Regions from separate parts of the Homo sapiens genome. Here region 2 is linked to region 1. The links are contacts of gene promoters, found by promoter capture Hi-C in blood cells and fetal thymus (Javierre and others, 2016). All regions are on one chromosome and are shown on one strand. The core of a region is centred on a gene start or on the middle of the fragment in contact, and the rest is flanking DNA. Distances in the headings are between cores, read along the strand shown.

Region 1 (3,093 bases), core at 278-2,777:
CCTCAGCAGAGTATAGCCCAAATACACTGGCAGGGGTGTGTAAAGTCTTTTTTTGTCACAGAATCCCGCTGAACCGTACTTATTTCAAATTCCATCACCCCTTACCGTGTACGTGATGGTTTCTTCGGTGTCCTGTGACTTGACCAGCGCCAGAGTCAGCATAGTTAGGAAAAGGGCTTTCAACATTGTGAATCTCAAAGAAAATACAGGACAAACTAATGTTTAGTATCTGCTGCGGGGAAAGTAACAAAACTTTAGCAGTGAGCACAAGCGAGGAAAGGAGGGTGGGAGAGGCTGAGGCTCCACCATACTCAACTTCCAATCTGCTTTCTCATCTCCCCTCCCCCTCCTGAACCTTCTCGGTAGCCAACGAACGAGGCAGCAAAGACGTAAAAACTGCTGTAGAATTGCATTTCACGTTACTCCATCCTGCTACGCTGTTTACATACAAAAGACATTCAGCGTGCATTTTATACTGCACCTACAAAGCAGGCTGCAGAAAGAGGGGGTCGAAAGGAAAAAACAGTAATCCATTTCAAAGGGGACGGTGCATTTCCTGCCCCCCAGTCCCACACCCCGGGGGATGGAGGTGGGGCTGCAAAACTCTGTTCTCTAGAACGTTAAGGCTTTCCCAGTATACTCACCTTGAGCTAGCAGAGTTCCTTGCACAGCACAGCAAAAATACCTGTGAGCCAATATGAATTGCCTTGGCCTCAAGCTTTTTATTTTTTAAACAAAATAACAAAACAAAACTCGGAGAGCAATCTTCCAGTTCTAGTAGAATACTAGACCTTCTCACATGTCTCAGAGCTTCTCACATCCCCCAGCACAAACTCTCAAAGTGGCATTTCCACGCCTTTCTCTGCGCACAGCTTTGTTTAAAAGTCCCAGGTTGTGTGGAGGGGCAGCCCAAAGCGACTGATTCTCTTTTGTCTTATCAGTCTGGGTCCCCGACACGCTACCTTCGGTTTCAGGCTGCCTAGGACCGGAACCAGGGATCGCACCGCAGCCCAAGGTACCAGTTTCGGGCGGGCGGCCTGGCCCGGCAGGGAGATGAGGTCCCCTTTCTTAACAGCAAGCTAACGCGGCGGTCCCCTGGAGCTGCTCAGCGTCCCAGCTTCTAACCAGCTCCTATGGAATCCAGGTGCGGCTTAAATCTCGCACACTGGTCCCCTAAACTTTCAAAACCACGTTTATGGGCAAAGCCCTGCCGGCTGGTTGTCGGCGCGCACACACATGCCCATCCCAACAGATGTCACCCGAGTACTCGCACTTGCTGACAGATCGCATTCCGAGGCTGCACACCTCCACCTCCCTCTCTGCCCGAGACACCCTGCACAGTCCAGGGCAGTTCTCGGGTACTCAACACCCCTCAGCTCACCCCACCTCACTCTCCCGCGCGCGGCCCAGTGAGTACTGGGCTCGCTCGGGGCGACCCCCCGTTGGGGGCTCCTACCTGTGCGGCCGCGCTGCGCTCCGGGCCCGGGCAGCGAGGGGAGTGCGCAGGGGAGGGCAGCCCCGTGGGTCTGATCTGGCGAAGTCCGGCAGCGGCCGCGGCGGCAGGAGGAGGAGGAGAAAGGGAGGGAAAGGGGGAGGGCGAAGGGGGGCGGAGGAGAGAGCTGAGGGAGGCGCGAGCGCTGAGCCCAGCGTTGCGAGCCCGGCGGTAGAGCGCGCAGCGCAGCGAGGTCCGCGCCCCCTGCTCCAGGGGCCCTCTTTGCCGCCCCCGCTTGCCCTCCCTTGCCAGCTCCTCGTTTCCCAGACTCGCGGGGACCCCACGCCAGAGAGGACACGTTGACATGTGATGTCCTGGATGCGCTTCAGCCTTGGGGATGCTCCCACTCTCTAGTGCGTTTTCTTCTTCTCTGAGGAGGGGAACACAGCATCTCCCTCAGAGACCAGAGGGTTCTAGAAACTGCTGTTACTTTTTTTCCCAATAAGTGAATGCTAGGAGAGTAAATTAACCCCCATTCATAGAACTGTTTCCTTTACCTTTTCTTTCGGATTTTTTTTTTTTTTTGAGGAGGTGTCTGCTTCCACAAATGGAGAAAAATGAGAATTCATCCATTCAACAAATATTTGCCACCTACTGTGTGCTTAGTGTTGGGAATAGGCCAAATAGAACTTGCACTAACAAAATTGTGAGGTGGGGTTTGTTTTATGGTCTCTCAAACCTCCCTTTATGATAACAAGTGTTGGCAAGAATGGAGAAAAGGGAATGCTTGTATGCTGTTGGTGGAATGTAAATTAGTACAAACATGATGGAAAATTGTATGGAGGTTTCTCAAAAAACTGAAAGTAGAATTATCATATGATCCAGCAATCTCATTTCTGGGTATTTACTGGGAAGATTTGAAATCAGTGTGTTGAAGAGACGTCTGTACTTTCATGTTTATTGCAGCACTATTCACAATTGCCAAGATATGGAATCAACCTAAGTGTCCATCAAGGGATAAATGGATAAAGAAAATGTGGCATATATGTGTGTGTGTATACAAATATAATATATATTATATATATAAACACATATATATATAAAATATGTACACACATATATTTTAGATATATATGCGTTTTTAAGGCTAAATAGTATTCCATTGTGTGTGTGTGTGTGCGCGCGTGCATGTGTATATGAGCCCATTCTTCTGAAAAGTATCTTTCAAGCCAGGCAAAAATGGCAGTTCACTTGAATAATTTGTATGGTAAATAGAGAAGACTTACAGTTTGTTTTAGATATTTACTCCTAGACATTTAATGTTAGTGTACTATCAAGTAAGCCTAGACTGAGTTTAGCTTCACCACTTGGCTATGTAGCCCTAAGCAAGTTAGACACTCTCTTTGATCTTCAGTTCTACCATTAATAGAAGGAAGATGATGCCACTTACCTTACACATTGCTGCAAGGATCAAAGGAGATCGTGTCTCCACAGCGGGATACTCAAAAATAGTTATTATCTTGTCCTTTAACCATGAATTATTAGGCATACAAAATTTAAAAGAGAATAGTATTCCATTTTATGTGTCTGTGTGTATGTGTGGAATACTATTTAGCCTTAAAAAAGAAATTCTGTCATTTGTGACACCATGGATGGAAGTG
Region 2 (3,093 bases), core at 431-2,930, 120 kb before region 1:
CACACATGGCCTTTAGAATATGGGAGCATTTTTTATTATAGTTTAAATCAAATATTTATTGACTACACATTGTGCTAGGTGTGGGGAATACAGAGAATTCTTAGATGTAGTCTTTGCATTTAAGGGATGCATATATTAAAATATAAACAGCTTTCCAAATTAGTACCTGCTAACTGCAGAAAGGATAACACAGGCAGTTCCTGCTACTGCAGTTTGCTTTCCCTTCTCCTGGAGTCAGCCTCGCCTTGAACTAGCTGTAGGGCAAAGTGTGCTCTCTTACAGATTTGCTTGGTATGGCCCCTCTTATTTCTCCTGTGCTGGGCTCAGCGCACCCAAGCTCTTGGGTATTCACCTTGATAATGGGGTTTTATATCTGTGGCTAGGCTTCCTTAGCTTGGTGATTGACTCAGACCTCTTTTCTATATTACTGACCTTAGTTCCCTGCCTGTCTCTGCTCTGCAGCCTGTCTTGATTTTGCTCCTTAGCAGCTTCTGGGAGGTAATAATCCCTCCACTGGCCCTGCAGCACTCTTACCAGCACTGAGCAGCTGATACCTCTTGCCACGCCTTTCTTCTGCCCTGCTCACTCGTTCCCTCCTGCCCAGGAAGATGCCAGACTTTATGGAAGAGCTGGGACTTTAACTGGAACTTGTGCAAAACAGGGTTTTAAAAAGATTAATCTGAGAGTAGCATGTTTACTGGAGAGAAGACAGGAAGACTTCATGGAAGTAACCCAGGACCAGAGGATAAAGGCCCAAACTGGTGGCAATAGGAAAAGACGGGATTGATGTTAGACATGTTTCTAAGAAAGAATTAGCCAGACTGACTTGGCAGAAAGAGAAAAGAAGAAGATGGATGTCTTTGAATTCTTAGAAATGCTTTGAAGATAAAAGCTCCACCTGGGGGAAAACACGAGAGACCTTTGAGGGTTCACCTTCCAGTAGGGTGACCAATTGTCTCAATTTGCCTAGGACTGAGAAAGTTCCCAAGACATGGGACTTTCAACTTCAAATTAGGATGGTCCTTGGCACACCAGATTGAGTTGGTCATCCTATTCCTGACCAGTGCCAGTATCATTCAGTGTGGTGTTGAATAAAAGCTTTTATATTTCTATGGGGCTCTTTTGACACTCCAAGTCAACTTGGCCTGGATCATCTTGAACAGGCATTTCAAAAAGCTGTTGGGATTTTAGTCAAAGGGGTTGAGACTTTTATAAGTAGGGCAGAATGCTACATATAAGAGTGGTTGGCCGGGCGCGGTGGCTCACGCCTGTAATCACAGCACTTTGGGAGGCCGAGGCAGGTGGATCACCTGAGGTCAGGAGTTCGAGACTAGCCTGGCCAACATGGCGAAACCCTGTCTCTACTAAAAATACAAAAAATAGCCAGACATGGTGGCAGATGGCTGTAATCCCAGCTACTCAGGAGGCTGAGGCAGGAGAATCGCTTAGAACCCGGGAGGCAGAGGTTGCAATGAGGTGAGATTGCACCATTGGATTCCAGCCTGGGTGACAGAGGGAGACTCTGTCTCAAAAAAAGAAAAAAAAAAAAAAAAAAAAAAAAAGAAAGTGGTAGGTGCCTGTGTCACAGCCAAGCTTCAGGCTTCCATTTTGGTGAGAAGCAAATTAAAAAAATAAAATGTTCAAATAATCTCAAATTTCAATGTACTTTCATGCTTCCCCCACCAAAAAAAAAATTGAAGTTCAATTTGCATAGATTAAAATGTTTTGCTCTTTCCTTCATGCTTTCTTTCCTGTTGGTGGATAATGTAAAGCTTACTGAAAATGACTCAAAGCAGGAATCAGACAAAGAGAAGATAAGAACAATCAGGAAAGAGGAGAACTTTGATGGTGAACAAATTGATTGCTGACCACTGAACTTAACTGTGAAATATCCAGAGACAAGTGTTTGGTAACCTCTCTTCTGTGGAATATGAATAATGAGCTGGAATTAAGTCCTCAAGACCTTTATACAACCAGAATAGATGTCGTGCATTTACATGAGAAGATAGAACCTCCTATAACTCTAGAACGGATTTATTTTTAATGGAGATGTTGTTGCAACAGATTTGTTTATTTAGGTTTCTAGCCATCTGCAAACTGGAGGCAATAAACCCAAAGTTTGTTTCTAGACTGATACAAGAACATCAGTGCAGAATGACTATGGATACTTTGATAGTACAGAAGGAGAGAAAAATAAAACACAAAAATTTGCCAAAGTAACAAAGGAAGCATAGTGGCCTGGGGCAATTTAATGTAGGGGCAACTCATTCTATGCATTTGTTATTGTTTTATACCCCTATGTAATGAGATAGTTTAAAGATGACCCTAAATCATCAAGAAAAAGTTAGATACATTTAGTGTACCTTGTTTGAGACCAAGGAAAGTATTTAACATTTTAGAAAGAATTTCCAACAAACTCTTACATTGAGTTTTCAGTTAATCTGAAAATTGACTTCTGTGGAATAACTTTATTCCATAAACTATCAATAAAGGAAATACTACATGTTTAAAACAAAATGAAATGGTGGAAACTAAGTGAGATTCGAGACTCTATGTTAGAGTACTAGGGACCCTGCATTTCTGAGAAAATTGACTTGCAATGTCCCTGTTCAGCTTGGGCTGTGCAATGAATGCCAACTGCAGGACAAAGCTGGGTCTTGCAGACGTCCTGTTGCCCTGACTGCCGGCAGAGAGCCATCAAAAGCTTCAGCGCAGCCCCAAGGGGTGCATATATTAAAGGAAAAACAAGAGCTATGCTCCAAAATGGCTTCATTTAAAATGCAAAGGGTAACAAGAGAGCAACATTTGGGGAAAGCCCAGCTCTCAGAAACAGGAAAGTAATACCGAATCTCGGTTAAAGTTGCTTGCTCTTGAACTAATTAGCTGAAGATTGAATTCAGCATGAGAAGTCAGAATGTGGGTTAAGAGTGAAGAAAAATGTTATTTTTCCTCTTAGGTACCAGCCTGGCACTTCAGAATGTAGTAGCAGGCAGCACATGAGACTCAGCCAATTTGATGAAATCACAAAATTGTAAAAAACACTGTGGCTGATTGAAAAGGGACTCTAGAGATGTAATGTGGGCCAGATGTTTG

The links. Contacts are between HindIII fragments. The CHiCAGO score rates a contact against its expected background, and 5 or more counts as called.
Region 2: a fragment that was not itself captured here is called in contact with the fragment with the promoter of EFEMP1 in region 1 in 1 of 17 cell types (M1 macrophages); the score reaches 5.4 in M1 macrophages.

The regions. Positions count from the first base shown.
Region 1 is chr2:55,922,255-55,925,347 of GRCh38, forward strand. EFEMP1 (EGF containing fibulin extracellular matrix protein 1) reads right to left here and starts at 1,528. Exons shown (of 12, transcript NM_001039348.3): 1 at 1,457-1,528; 2 at 645-685; 3 at 106-193. The coding sequence starts at 186. RefSeq lists an enhancer at 1,088-1,587. The HindIII fragment of the contact is 8,249 bases long and covers 717-3,093 here.
Region 2 is chr2:55,802,003-55,805,095 of GRCh38, forward strand. No RefSeq gene overlaps it. Among named protein-coding and RNA genes, the nearest start is that of PNPT1, 110 kb to the left of the region's middle. The HindIII fragment of the contact is 179 bases long and covers 1,592-1,770 here.